Linked DNA regions of Homo sapiens: all the other regions are linked to region 1. The links are contacts of gene promoters, found by promoter capture Hi-C in human tissues and cell types (Jung and others, 2019). All regions are on one chromosome and are shown on one strand. Each heading gives the region's core, a stretch centred on a gene start or on the middle of the fragment in contact. The rest is flanking DNA. Distances are from core to core; before and after follow the strand shown.

What was found. The method cuts DNA at HindIII sites, captures the fragments that hold promoters and counts their contacts. A contact is called where the count stands out against the background at its distance.
Region 2: a contact is called between a fragment that was not itself captured here and the fragment with the promoter of DDX55 in region 1, in 3 of the 25 tissues and cell types used here (aorta, heart right ventricle and pancreas).
Region 3: a contact is called between the fragment with the promoter of RILPL2 here and the fragment with the promoter of DDX55 in region 1, in 1 of the 25 tissues and cell types used here (adrenal gland).

Annotation. Positions count from the first base shown.
Region 1 is chr12:123,599,341-123,604,029 of GRCh38, forward strand. It overlaps DDX55 (DEAD-box helicase 55), which reads left to right and starts at 2,759. Exons shown (of 14, transcript NM_020936.3): 1 at 2,759-2,916. The coding sequence starts at 2,809. RefSeq lists a silencer at 3,121-3,230 and an enhancer at 3,471-3,520. The HindIII fragment of the contact is 15,410 bases long and covers 1-4,689 here.
Region 2 is chr12:123,412,410-123,417,098 of GRCh38, forward strand. It overlaps RILPL2 (Rab interacting lysosomal protein like 2), which reads right to left. Exons shown (of 4, transcript NM_145058.3): 4 at 2,630-3,512. The coding sequence ends at 3,482. Among named protein-coding and RNA genes, the nearest start is that of RILPL2, 22 kb to the right of the region's middle. The HindIII fragment of the contact is 7,685 bases long and covers 1-4,689 here.
Region 3 is chr12:123,434,625-123,439,313 of GRCh38, forward strand. RILPL2 (Rab interacting lysosomal protein like 2) reads right to left here and starts at 2,060. Exons shown (of 4, transcript NM_145058.3): 1 at 1,458-2,060. The coding sequence starts at 1,796. RefSeq lists an enhancer at 1,036-1,965 and a silencer at 1,807-2,066. The HindIII fragment of the contact is 18,752 bases long and covers 1-4,689 here.

The sequences.
Region 1 (4,689 bases), core at 1,509-4,008:
GTCTGCATGAGTTGTATTCCCATTTATCAATCCCACAAATATTTGAGTGATTGCTGTGTGCTACAGTGATAGTCCTTGGGATAAAGAAGATAGAGAAAAGACCCTATTAGTGTGGGTTTTACATTTTGGTGGCAGAGATGAACCTAATAAGTTTTGTGTGTGTGTGTGTGTGTTTGTGTGTGTGTGGCGAGAAAGAGATAATGGTAAATGCTAAGAAGGGAACATAAATCAAGGTAGGAGTTTCAGTGATACAGAAAGGAAGGTAACAGAAGTTGATTTCAAAAGTCCAAGTGGAATGTAAGGGAGTGTAAGGGAAAACTTCCCCTTTGCTCTCAGGTTTCTCTAAAAATTCAACTGAAAATAGGCAGATTAATAGGAGGAAAGTGATACAAATTTATTCGGTCATGCTTTTACATGACAAAGGAACCTTCAGAATTAAGACCCAAAGTTACAGGGAAAACTATTTTTATGCTTAGGCTCAACAAAATATGCACAGCTGAGTAGAAATAGGACTGGACAAGAAGGGCATGATCTAATGCTCATAGACTGAGTGGGGAAGCCCAGCGAGGCCTGTCTGGATTCTTTCCTTCTGGATAGGGGAAAGAACCCTTCCTGGAATGGGGTCTTACAACCTACCAGCAAAACAAAGGAGGTCAGATACATTTTTTTTTTTTTTGGAGACAGTCTCTCTCTGTCACCCAGGGTGGAGTGCGGTGGCGCGATCTTGGCTCACTGCAGCCTCCGCCTCCCGGGTTCAAGCAATTCTCCTGCCTCAGCCTCCCAAGTAGCTGGGAATACAGGCGCACGCTGCCACATCTGGCTAATTTTTTTTTGTATTTTTAGTAGAGACGGGATTTCACCGTCTGGTCTCGAACTCCTGAGCTCAGGCAATCTGCCCGCCTTGGCCTCCAAAAGTGCTAGGATTACAGGTGTGAGCCACCACGTCTGGCCTTTTTTTGTTTGTTTGTTTGTTTGTTTGTTTGTTTTTTGAGACTGAGTCTCACTCTGTCGCCCAGGCTGGAATGCAATGGTGCGATCTAGGATTACTGCAGCCTCCACTTCTCAGGTTCAAGCGATGCTTGTAGCTCAGCCTCCGGAGTAGCTGCAGGCACCTGCCACCACACCTGGCTAATTTTTTGTATTTTTAGTAGACAGGGTTTCACTACGTTGGCCAGGCTGGTCTCAAACTCCTTACCTTAGGTGATCCGCCTGCCTCAGCCTCCCAAAGTGCTGGGATTACAGGCATGAGCCACCGCACCTAGCCCAGATAATTTCTTTTTCTTTTTTTTTTTGAGACTGAGTCTCGCTTTGTCACCCACGCTGGAGTGCAGTGGCGCAACCTCCACCTCCCTGGTTCAAGCGATTCTTCTGCCTCAGGCTCCTGAGTAGCTGGGACTACAGGCATGCGCCACCACGCCTGGCTAATTTCTGTATTTTTAGTAGAGACGGGGTTTCACCATATTGGCCAGGCTGGTCTCGAACTCCTGACCTTGAGATCTGCCCGCTTTGGCCTCCCAAAGTGGTGAGATTACAGGCGTGAGCCACCGTGCCAGGCCAATAATTTCTTTATGGCCAGTTTTTTCACAGAAAGGTGGAGAGAGAGTAATATTTTTAGGTTTTATGGCTGACTGTGGAGAAAAGGGATTCCTGTTTCTATGCTCCGTCATGGGCAAGAGGGATTCTTGAGTTTCTATGGCTAGCCTCAGAGAATCAGAGATCAGAGAGGGAGCAGAAGGTCAGAGAGAAACTTGCTTCTGAGGCTGCCTCTGGGGCCTTCATTTTGGGGTTTCGTTTTCAGAGCCTCAACAGGAGCAAGCCATGCACATAGGTGGAGGAGATAGGCCCTCATAGAGGGCACATAATGAGTGGTCAATAAAAGTTTGCTGAGTGAAGGCCGGGCGCGGTGGCTCACGCCTGTAATCCCAGCACTTTGGGAGGCCGAGGCGGGCGGATCACGAGGTCAGGAAATCGAGACCATCCTGGCTAACACGGTGAAACCCCGTCTCTACTAAAAATACAAAAAATTAGCCGGGCGTGGTGGAGGGCGCCTGCAGTCCCAGGTACTCGGGAGGCTGAGGCAGGAGAAGGGCGTGAACCCGGGAGGCGGAGCTTGCAGTGAACCGTTATAGCGCCCAGCCTCCAGCCTGGGCAACAGAGCGAGACTCCGTCTCAAACAACAACAACAACAACAACAACAACAAAAACAGCTTTCTGAGTGAAGTTGTATGTGGACATGAATGGCCCAGGCAAACAGTGAACAGAGGAATGGGACAGTGTTCTTAGTTAGGACTCTGACCCTAACTTCCGGGAAAGTAAACCAACATTCAGGACGTACCGGCCATCGGACCGCAACATTCAGGACGTACCGGCCATCAGCGGGTGCCTGTTTTGCAGGGCTGCTAACCCGGGTCCCCGACACGTTTCTCTGCCCACGGTAGCCAGCCCCGCTGTCCTTCGGCCTGGACGCGGTCCTGTGCTGCCACCTGCCTCCGAGGGGCAGAGAAAGTGGGAGGGCCGGGCCAGAATCCCTCCCGCCAAAACTCCTGCCCGGTGCGGAGAGGCGCCCGGAGCCCAGGGCGCTGTGCGGAGCGGGTGTAACTCCCCAGGCCTGCCCCGCCGCCTGCCTCCACCGTCCCGCGGACGCCTTTCCTCCCTCCCGCGGCGTGGGAGCCTTCGCCGCGCTCCGGAACTCTGCTGCTCCAGCGAAGTTCCCGGCCGGCCGCTGGAGCTGCGGGAAGCGGAAGTGCTCGTTGGGGGTGCACAAGGCGCGTTCGAGCAGCGGCGACCGACGCGGCGAAGGAGCGCGCCATGGAGCATGTGACAGAGGGCTCCTGGGAGTCGCTGCCTGTGCCGCTGCACCCGCAGGTGCTGGGCGCGCTGCGGGAGCTGGGCTTCCCGTACATGACGCCGGTGCAGGTATCGGTTCCCTGGCGTGGGGGAGTGAGGCTGGGAGAGGGGCAGGCACCCGCTGCATCGGACCCACAGGAGGTGATCGGACAGATCTGAGCCCTGGGGCGCTCATCCCTCCAGCTGGGGCTCTTGCCTTGTCTCCAGCTGCCCAGACTGGCGGAATGCGGAGCTGCCCGGCCAGCGAGCCGGCAGAGGGGCCGCGACCCACCCCGCCCTCGGGTGCTGTGGTCTCAAGCCTGGTTCTCATCCTGGCCCTGCTCGCTGTAGCTGTGAGACCTCGGGCAAATGGCTTAACCTCTCCGTGCTTCATTTTCCTTCTCTGTGAAATGACGAAAAAATAACACCCTCCTTATGGGGTTGCTGTGGGGACTAAATAAACCAGTCGGCACACTATGGGAGCTCAGTAAGGGTTACCGTTGTTATGCATCTCTTCAAGAATATTTCTTGAGGACCTGCTATGTGTCAGGAACTCTTCTAGGCTCTGGGGAGTTTGCAGTATTGGCATCTGCTCATAGCCTTACTTTCTAGTGCAAGAGCTAGAGAAAGGATAATTTCAGCTGCTGGTAAGTGTTATGAAAGAACTAAGACGGTTGTGATAGTGTCGCGCGAGGACTGCAGAGGAGGTGAGATAGGGTGTTAAGGAAGGCCTCTCTGAGGAGGTGCATTGAGCTGAGACCTCAGTGATTGAGAAGGAGCTGGCTCTGAGGTGACTAGGGGGAGATTATTCCACTGGAGAGAAATACCAGTGCACATAAATGCCCTGCGGCAGGCTGCAAATAGTTTGAGCAGCAGAAAGGAGGCCTTTGTGGCTGAACATCAAGAGTAGTGTAAGAGATGGATTGTGCAGGGTCTTGTAGGCGCTTGGATTTCATTCTAAATGTAGTGGGAAGCCATCTTATCTGGGAGGATGTTTAGGAAGGGAAGGGCTGTGATTTCTCTGTAGAGAGTGGCCTTTCCAGGCATAAGAGATGAAGCAGGCAGGTCGCTTAGGAGGCCATTGTCAGGTAAGAGATGATGGTGACTTGGAGTAGGGTGGAACCAGTGGATACTGAGAAGTCACATTTGGGATAGCTTTAAGGTTGCTAAGGGACTGGAAGTGGAGGTTAGGAAAGAAAAGACTACAGGACCTGAGGTTTTTATTCTTTTTTTTTTTTTTTTTGAGATGGAGTCTCGCTCTGTTGCCCAGGCTGGAGTGCAGTGGCGCGATCTCGGCTCACTGCAACCTCCGCCTCCTGGGTTCAAGCAATTCTCTGCCTGAACCTCCCAAGTAGCTGAGATCACAGGTGCCTGCCACCATGCCCGGCTAATTTTTTGTATTTTTAGTAGATACGGGGTTTCACCATCTCGGCCAGGTTGGTCTTGAACTCCTGACCTCCTGATCCACCCGCCTTGGCCTCCCAAAGTGCTGGGATTACAGGCTGAGCTACCGCACCCGGCTGATTTTTATTAGTAGCTGAGTGAATGGTGTTACCATTTCCCAAGAATGACTGGCGTGCGTATCAGGTTTCAGAGGGAAAGTCAAGAGTTCTTTTTTTTGTTTTTTGTTTGTTTGTTTGTTTTTAACTTTTTTGAGACGGAATCTTTCTCTGTTGCCCAGGTTGGAGTGCAATGACACGATCTCGGCTCACTGCAACTTCTGCCTCCCGGGTTCAAGCTATTCTCCCATCTCAGCCTTCCAAGTAGCTGGGGTTACAGGCATACACCACCACGCCTGGCTAATTTTTGTGTTTTTAGTAGAGACGGGATTTCGCCATGTTGGCCAGACTGGTCTTGAACTCC
Region 2 (4,689 bases), core at 1,312-3,811, 190 kb before region 1:
GAATTACAGGCTTGAACCACTATGCCTGGCCAGGGTTGCAGTGTTACACAGGGTTCTAGGGATTAGGAGCCCTGATCTAATGATGCTGTTGAGACAGTGTTCTGGACTAGACTCTTAAACACTACCAGCTCTTCCTGGAAGGCAGAGTGGTTGAAGCCTGTGTGTGGACTTTGTATCTGGGCTCAAGTCCTGCTTCTACCACTTTCTAGCTGAGGACCTTAGACAAGACTTTTCACCCATTATGCCTTAACCTCCTTGGGAGGACCCCAAGGACAATAGTGATACCCATCCCACAAAAGTATGTGAGACAGCATCGGAAAGGTACTTAGAATGATGCAGGCGAGGCATACAGTAAATTATTACTATTATTAGGACTTGCCAGTGACTCTGGACCCATAAAGCTTGGCAGCTCCGCGCCCGGGCCTTGGAATCAGGCCTGCATTTGCCTCCTGGGCAAGCTGCTTCCTAGCTCCACAGCCAGAGTTTCAGTTTCTAAACCTATAAACTGGCCGGGCACGGTGACTCACGCCTGTAATCCCAGCACTTTGGGAGGCCGAGGAGGGCGGATCATGAGGTCAGGAGTTCGAGACCAGCCTGGCCAATATGGTGAAACCCCGTCTCTACAAAAATACAAAAATTAACCCAGTGTGGTGGCATATACCTATAGTCCCAGCTAGTCGGGAGGCTGAGGCAGGAGCATCGCTTGAATCTGGGAGGCAGAGATTGCAGTGAACCCAGATGGTGCCACTGCACTCCAGCCTGGGCGATAGAGCAAGACTCCGTCCCCACCACCCCCCAAAAAAAAGCCGGGTGCGGTGGCTCACGCCTGTAATCCCAGTGTGTCCGGAATTGGTGGGTTCTTGGTCTCACTGACTTCAAGAATGAAGCCGCGGACCCTCGCGGTGAGTGTTACAGTTCTTAAAGGTGGCGTGTCCAGAGTTTGTTCCTTCTGATGTTCAGATGTGTTCGGAGTTTCTTCCTTCTGGTGGGTTCGTGATCTCGCTGGCTCAGGAGTGAAGCTGCAGACCTTCGTGGTGAGTGTTACAGCTCTTAAGGCGGCGCGTCTGGAGTTGCTCGTTCCTCCTGGTGGGCTCCTGGTCTCCCTAGCTTCAGGAGTGAAGCTGCAGACCTTCGGGGTGAGTATTACAGCTCATAAAAGCAGTGTGGACCCAAAGAGTAAGCAGTAGTAAGATTTATTGCAAAGAACAAAAGAACAAAGCTTCCACAATGCGGAAAGGAACCCGAGCGGGTTGCCACTGCTGCCTGGGGCAGCCTGCTTTTATTCTCTTATCTGGCCCCACCCACATCCTGCTGATTGGTAGAGCCAAGTGGTCTGTTTTGACAGGGCGCTGATTGGTGCGTTTACAATCCCTGATCTAGACACAAAGGTTCTCCACGTCCCCACCAGATTAGCTAGATACAGAGTGTGGACACAAAGGTTCTCCAAGGCCCCACCAGAGTAGCTAGATACAGAATGTCGATTGGTGCATTCACAAACCCTGAGCTAGACACAGGGTGCTGATTGGTGTGTTCACAAACCTTGAGCTAGATACAGAGTGCCGATTGGTGTATTTACAATCCCTGAGCTAGACACAAAGGTTCTCCACGTCCCCAGCAGACTCAGGAGCCCAGCTGGCTTCACCCAGTGGATCCCGCACCGGGGCTGCAGATGGAGCTGCCTGCCAGTCCCGTGCCCTGTGCCTGCACTCCTCAACCCTTGGGTCGTTGATGGGACTGGACACCATGGAGCAGGGGGTGGGGCTCGTGGAGGAGGCTTGGGCCGCACAGGAGCCCACGGAGGGGGTGGGAGGCTCAGGCATGGCGGGCTGCAGGTCCCGAGCCCTGCCCCACGGGAAGGCAGCTAAGGCCCGGCGAGAAATCGAGCGCAGCGCCGGTGGGCTGGCACTGCTGGGGGACCCAGCACACCCTCAGCAGCCGCTGGCCCGGGTGCTAAGCCCCTCATTGCCCGGAGCCGGCAGGGCCCGCCAGCTGCTCCGAGTGCGGGGCCCACCAAGCCCACGCCCACCCGGAACTCCAGCTGGCCCGCAAGCGCCCCGCGCAGCCCCGGTTCCCGCTCGCGCCTCTCCCTCCACACCTCCCTGCAAGCTGAGGGAGCGGGCTCCGGCCTTGGCCAGCCCAGAAAGGGGCTCCCACAGTGCAGCGGTGGGCTGAAGGGCTCCTCAAGTGCCGCCAAAGTGGGAGCCCAGGCAGAGGAGGCGCCGAGAGCGAGCGAGGGCTGTGAGGACTGCCAGCACGCTGTCACCTCTCACCAGCACTTTGGGAGGCTGAGGCGGGTGGATCACGAGGTCAGGAGATCGAGACCATCCTGGCTAACACGGCGAAACCCTGTCTCTACTAAAAATACAAAAAAATTAGACGAGTGTGGTGGCAAGTGCCTGTAGTCCCAGCTACTCAGGAGGCTGAGGCAAGAGAATGGCGTGAACGTAGGCAGCAGAGCTTGTAGTGAGCCGAGATCGTGCCACTGCACTCCAGACTGTGCGACAGAGCGAGAGACTCCGTCTCAAAAAAAAAAAAAAAAAAAATCTATAAACTGGTGCACCGGTACCGGTCCCCATCTCCCCAGGTTATGAGGAACAAATGAGATAATCCACAGAGCAGGCGAAACACATTGAGTAAGCCACTGTTATTTACTAAGAAGACAGGCTCACGGAATGGTTGCGGCAGCCTCATTAGTTCCTTTGCGAAGTGCAGACACCCGCTCTCTGTTTCATTGATTCCTAAATGCATTTTGTTCACATCTTAACACCTCTGAAATCAGGATGAGTCCTAAAATCGATAGCTTCTTAACATTTTAGTTTGCAGCAATCTTTCCCTTCATAGTGACACCAGATAATCGTGCATCGCTTAGACTGAATGAATGCAATTGATTCATTATACAATGAAATGTAGATATATGACATATACACACATATACCATGTGTACCATCGTAACTAAGAGACCACTCTAGATAAGCTATAGAAAGTATAAAAATCATTTTACTTTAATACAAAATCACATAAAGAAAGGCATGTTGGCTAAATCAAATATTCACTAAATATCAGTGAAGTCACCACTGGAATCTCAATAGCACATTTTCCTGCTTTCTTTTCTCCCTTCTGCTAACCATTGAAGACCAGGGTCATCCGTGGGAGCAGATGAGTAGGACACGCGTCTGCACGCTGGAGGCCCTGGGGGTTGACATGGGAGCAGGAAGTGGACCCCCCCACCCTGCACATCCCTTCTGTTTTTCTTGATTTCAGTCTCACTGGCCCAGGCCAAATCTTCAAGGGTGTCTAGTTCTGCAGCCAGGGAGAAAGTGATGCCAAGAGAACCTCGTCTCCTCCCTCCTCAGTCTGCTTTGAAGGGGAAATAAATACACAGGCCTAGTGTGTCTGTGTGGCACAGGGAGGTGGTTTTGCCAGGCATCTTGGAAGGTTGTCTTCTAGAATCAGAGCCATAGCCTTACTTGTGGCCTTGGATCTAGGTCTGTTTCCCCGATCGAAAAAAGAACCTGGTGTGGAGAGAGAGAGGGTTCAGGGTAAGCAGAAGGAACAAAGCAAGGGGCACAGCAACCCCCGTAAAATTTCTAAGTAGCTCTTGCAGCTGTTGACTCAAAAATATGTCCAGGCCAGGCATTGTGGCTCACGCCTGTAATCCTATGATTTTGGGAAGCTGAGGCAAGAGGATGAGGATCACTTGATCCCAGGAGTCTCAGACATGCCTGGGCAGCATAGTGAGACCCCATCTCTAAAAAAAAAAAAAAATTAACCAGGCGTGGTGGCATACACCTGTAATCCCAGCTACTCAGGAAGCTGAGGCAGGAGAATCGCTTGAACCCGGGACGCAGAGGTTGCAGTGAGCCGAGATTGCGCCACTGCACTCCAGCCTGGGCGACAGAGCAAGACACTATCTCAAAAGAAAAAGAAAAAGCAAAAAAACCCCAAAAAACCCGGGTGCGGTGGCTCATGCCTGTAATCCCAGCACTTTGGGAGACGGAGGCAGGCAGATCATGAGGTCAGGAGATCGAGACCATCCTGGCTCACACGGTGAAACCCCGTCTCTACTAAAAATACAAAAAATTAGCCGGGTGTGGTGGCGGGCGCCTGTAGTCCCAGCTGCCTCGGGAGGCTGAGGCAGGAGAATGGCATAAACCCGGGAGGCGGAGCTTGCAGTGAGCCAAGATGGTGCCACTGCACTCCAGCCTGGGTGACAGATTGAGACTCCGTCTCAAAAACAAAAACAAAAAAACACATTCATTCGTTCATTCATTCACTCATTGATTCTAGTAGCTCATTAAGTTTATCTGACCCTGAAAGGGTGGCCTCACGCTCATTAGCCACTAGCCACATGTCCTCAGGCTAGCTCATGCACAGAACACACATTTCACTTTTGCTCTATTAGGCTCAAACTCCAATTAGGTGTCCTAAGCTCCCGTAGAAGGACGCTGAAAGAAACCAGTAGTTTATGCCTTCTGGAAGCCTGATTTGCAACAAGACAGCCAATGAAAGTCCTAAATGAACACCTTCACTTCGGACACCTGGGTGGAGGTGCTCTTTCATTATCTTACCTCAGAAGACCCTTCCTTGTGGAAGAAACACTTCCATTAGGCTGGGTGCAGTGGCTTACACCCGTAATCCTAGCACATTGGGAGGCTGAGGCGGGCGGATTGCTTGAGCTCAGGAGTTCCA
Region 3 (4,689 bases), core at 810-3,309, 170 kb before region 1:
ACCATGTTGGCCAGGCTGGTCTCAAATTCCTGACCTTGTGATCTGCCCGCCTTGGCCTCCCAAAGTGCTGGGATTACAGGCGTGAGTCACAGCACCCAGCCAGATGATTTTTAACATATGTGTAGATCCCTATATCCATACCCTGATTAAGATATGGGACACTTCTAGCTCTCTATCAATTTCCCTTCTTTTCCCCCCACCACCAGTTTGCCTTCTATAACTATAAATTATTTTGCCTGTTCATGAATTTTATTTAAATGTACAGTAGGGCTGGGTGCTGTGGCTCAGGCCTGTAATCCCAGCACTTTGGAAGGCTGAGGTGGGTGGGTCACTTGAGGCCAGGAGTTTGAGACCAGCCTGGCCAACATGGTGAAACCCCGTCTCTACCAAAAAAGAAAAAAAAAAAATAGCCACGCGTGGTGGCACACGCTTGCAATCCCAGCTGCTCAGGAGGCTGAGGCAGGAGAATCGCTTGAATCCAGGAGGTGGAGGTTGCAGTGAGTCGAGGTCACGCCACTGCACTACAGTCTGAGCAACAGAGCAAGATTCTGACTCAAAAAAAAAAAAAATCTACAGTAGTTTCTCTTTAGTGCCTGGCTTCTTTCTCTCAATGTTACATCTGTGAGATTCATTCACACTGCTGTGTGTATCAGCACCCCGTTCTTTTTCTCTGTTGCATAGTATTCCATATATCACAATTTCAAAACTCAATTGGGTTGCATTTAGAGTGTTTCCAGTTTGGCAGCTGAGACTAAAGCTGCTCTGAATCTTCTTGTCTATGTCTTTTTGTGGTCATATGCACTAATTTCTCTTTAGGTAAAATGTGTTTCTTGTCCAAGTGTGGTGGCTCACATCCACAAGCCCAGCACTTTGGGAGGCCAAGGTGGGAGGATTCCTTGAGCTTAGGAGTTTGAGACCAGCCTGGGTAACGGTGAGACCCCCATCTCTACAAAACATCAAAAAAGTTAGCCAGGCATGGTGGCACATGCCTGTACTCCCAGCTACTTGGAAGGGCAAGGCAGGAGAATTGCTTGAGCCTAGGAGGCCAAGGCTGTAGTGAGCCGTGTTTGCACCACTGCACTCTAGCCTGGGAGATAGAGCAGGACCCTGTGTCAAAAGAAAAAAAAAGTGTTTCTTGCTCTAGGTCAAAGGTTCTCAAACTGTGGACCCTGGGCCAATAGCATCAGCATTAACTGCGAACTCGTTAGAAATACAGATTCTGGCCAGGCAGGGTGGCTCACACCTGTAAACCCAGCACTCTAGGAGGCTGAGGCTGGGGGATCACTTGGAGCCAGGAGTTTGAGACCAGCCTGGGCAACACAGCGAGATCCCATCTCTTAAAAAAAGAAAAAAGAGAAAAGAGAAGAGAAAAGAAAAGGAAGGCGTCTCCCTGCCAGTAGGTGCCCTCCTACGCCCCGCAGGCGCCGTGGGCCCGGAACCCTCGCTCCCACACTCACCTCCCCGCTGGCCGGAGGGCTCTGTCTCCGCAGCCCCTCCACCTCCTTCCTGAGGTGGTCCCTCTCCATCTTCAGCTCCTCCAGCGCCAGGCTGCCCTCATTCACCAGCGCCTCCAGCATCTCCAGGACGCGGACGACTTTGAACTGCAGCTGCGTCACCCGGGGGTCGCTGCCCAGGGCCATAAGCTCGCGGCCCAACAGGTAGGAGATGTCATACACGTCCTCGGCGGTCAGCTGGAAGGGGCTCTTGCCCAGCGCCCCCTCGGGCCCAACCTCGTCCCTCTCCTCGTCCTCCTCTCCCTCCTCCTCTTCCTCTTCTCGCACAGGGGGCTCCTCCATGGCCACCCAGACCCCCGCCGACCTCGGAGCTGCTGTCTTGGAGTCTCCCAAAGGTTAGACTTCCTCCCGGCACCCAAAACTTTCCGCTGGGCAGAGTCCCTACCTGCCCAATCAGCGCGGCCCGGGGGTGGGCCCGGGGGGATGGTGCAAGGGGCCGCGCACGCGACTCTTGGGCCTGCGCCCCGGCGCACCGTCCCCGCTGCCAGCCACGCTGGAGAGTGCGCTCCAGGATGTGGTTTGGGGCGCGAAGGGACAACGGAAAAGGAGGCAGCCGAGAAGAGGAACGGGGAAGTTCAGGGGTGACGGCAATCGCCCCAGCCTGGGAACAGTTGCAGCCCCGGGGAGGAGCCGCCCTGAGCCCCGCCCCTGGCGACCGCTGCCAGGAGGTGCGTTTCCGTGGAGACGGAGTTTCCACCGTGCAATCCAGAGCGGGGTAAAAAGAACGCAACTTTTTCCTTTCCACCCTCGTGCTTTCCAGCCGTAGAATTTGCATCGTAGGTGATGGAAGATCCGGGTGTCTCTTTGAGGGTGTTTTCTGGAGCCTGCGGCCAAACAGAAAGCAGCTGCTGGGGGCAGCGCGACAGAGTCCCCGAGGCTTGAGGATCTGGAAAACTCCCAGGCAAATTGTCACTAGGGCCTGGGGCGTCCGACTTCGCTGTGACTCTCAATAAAATGGAGAATGTCTGCCCTGCTCACTTCGCTGGGTCCTCGGCTCCTCCACGTAACCAGCGCTGTCACCTTGGCAAGTTACTTAACGTCTCCGAGCCTCAGTCTCCTCCTCTGTAAAATGGGGACAATAGCGGGACCCAGGTGGCAGGGTTGCTGCGAGGAACATGAGCTTATGAGATCATGTGTGCGACACCTCAAGCACTTAGGAAGCACTCACATACGTGACTGCAATCCTTCATTCTTTCTTTCTTTCTTTCTTTCTTTTTTTTTTTGAGACGGAGTCTCCCTGTGTCGCCCAGGCTGGAGTGCAGTGGCGCGATCTCGGCTTGCTGCAAGCTCCGCCTCCCAGGTTCACGCCATTCTCCTGCCTCAGCCTCCCGAGTAGCTGGGACTACAGGCACGCGCCACCACGCCCGGCTAATTTTTTTGTATTTTTAGTAGAGACGGGGTTTCACCATGTTCGCCAGGATGGTCTCGATCTCCTGACCTCGTGATCCACCTGCCTCGGCCTCCCAAAGTGCTGGGATTACAGGCGTGAGCCACCGCGCCCGGCCCCTTCATTCTTTCTTCCACAGCGCTAGGGAGGAATTGCTGGTGTTGGAGACACCTTGCTACTTGGGTGAGAGAAGGAGGAGTAATTAACAAGAGAGAAACCCCTGTCTGAAAATCACAAAGCATTCGACACATATGCGGAATCCATATTACTGAGAATATTAGCAGAGTGGCGTAGAAACTTGAGTCATTCGCTGTGGCTCATGCCTTAATCTCAACACTTCAGGAGGCTGACGCAGGAGGATTGCTTGAGCCCAGGAATTTGAGACTAGCTTGGGCATCATAGTGAGACCCTGTCTCTACAAAAAGTAAACAAAAGTAGCTGGACACAGTGGTTCATGCCTGTAGTGGCAGGTACTCGGGAGGCTGAGGTGGGAGGACCACTTGAGCCCGGGATGTTGAGGCTGCAGTGAGCCAAGATCTCACCACAGAGTGGTGCCTGTGACAGAGTGGGACCATGGTGACAGAGTAAGATCATGTCTCAAAAAAAAAGGCACAACAAATCTCAAGTTATTTTAGGTTTCACTGGAGGTTTGTGATAGTCTCAGGCAGAAAGCTCAGCAACGGGGCTTGTCTTTCCCAGGAATGTATTGGCAGCTTTCCTTGTGATAGGTGTATCCATTTTCTCCACACTGAGGTACTAGAATCTCAATGGAGAATGTACATAGATTAAACCAACCAACAAAAGCAAAGCAAATTAACAAAACACACTATTTTCAGAGGGTCGTTTCTTTTTATTTTATTTTATTTTATTTTATTTATTTGTTTATTTATTTATTTAGAGACAGAATCTTGCTCTGTTGCCCAGGCTGGAGCTCAGTGGCATGATCTCGGCTCACCGCAACCTCCGCCTCCCTGGTTAAAGCAATTCTTCTACCTCAGCCTCCCCAGTAGCTGGGACCACAGGCGCATGCCGCCCCGCCTGGCTAATTTTTTGTATTTTAGTAGAGATGGGGTTTCACTGTGCTGCCCAGGCTGGTCGCGAACTCCTGAGCTCGGGCAATCCTCCCACCTGGGCCTCCCAAAGTGCTAGGATTACGGGCGTAAGCCACCCTGCCTGGCCTATTTTACTTTTATAAAATAAAAAAGTCAGGCCGAGATGGGCGGATCACGAGGTCAGGAGACCGAGACCATCCTGGCTAACACGGTGAAACCCTGTCTCTACTAAAAATACAAAAAAAATTAGCCGGGTGTAGTGGCGGGCGCCTGTAGTCCCAGCTACTCGGGAGGCTGAGGCAGGAGAATGGCGTGAACCCGGGGACAGAGCTTGCAGTGAGCCGAGATCGCGCCACTGCACTCCAGCCTGGGCAACAGAGCAAGACTCGGTCTCAAAAAAAATAAATAAAAATAAATAAATAAATAAATAATAAATAATAAAAAAATAAAATAAATAAAAAAGCCTCACTCTGTTGCCTAGGTTGGAGTGCAGTGACACGATCTCGGCTCACTGCAACCTCTGCCTTCCAGGTTCAAGCGATTCTCCTGCCTCAGCAGCCCCACCCCGAGTAGCTGGGATTACAGGCACGCGCCACCATGCATGGCTAATTTTTTGTATTTTTAGTAGAGACGGGATTTTACCATGTTGCCCAGGCTGGTCTCCAACTCCTGACCTCAGGATGATCCACCTGCCTCAGCCTCCCAAAGTGCTGGGATTACAGGCATGAGCCACCAT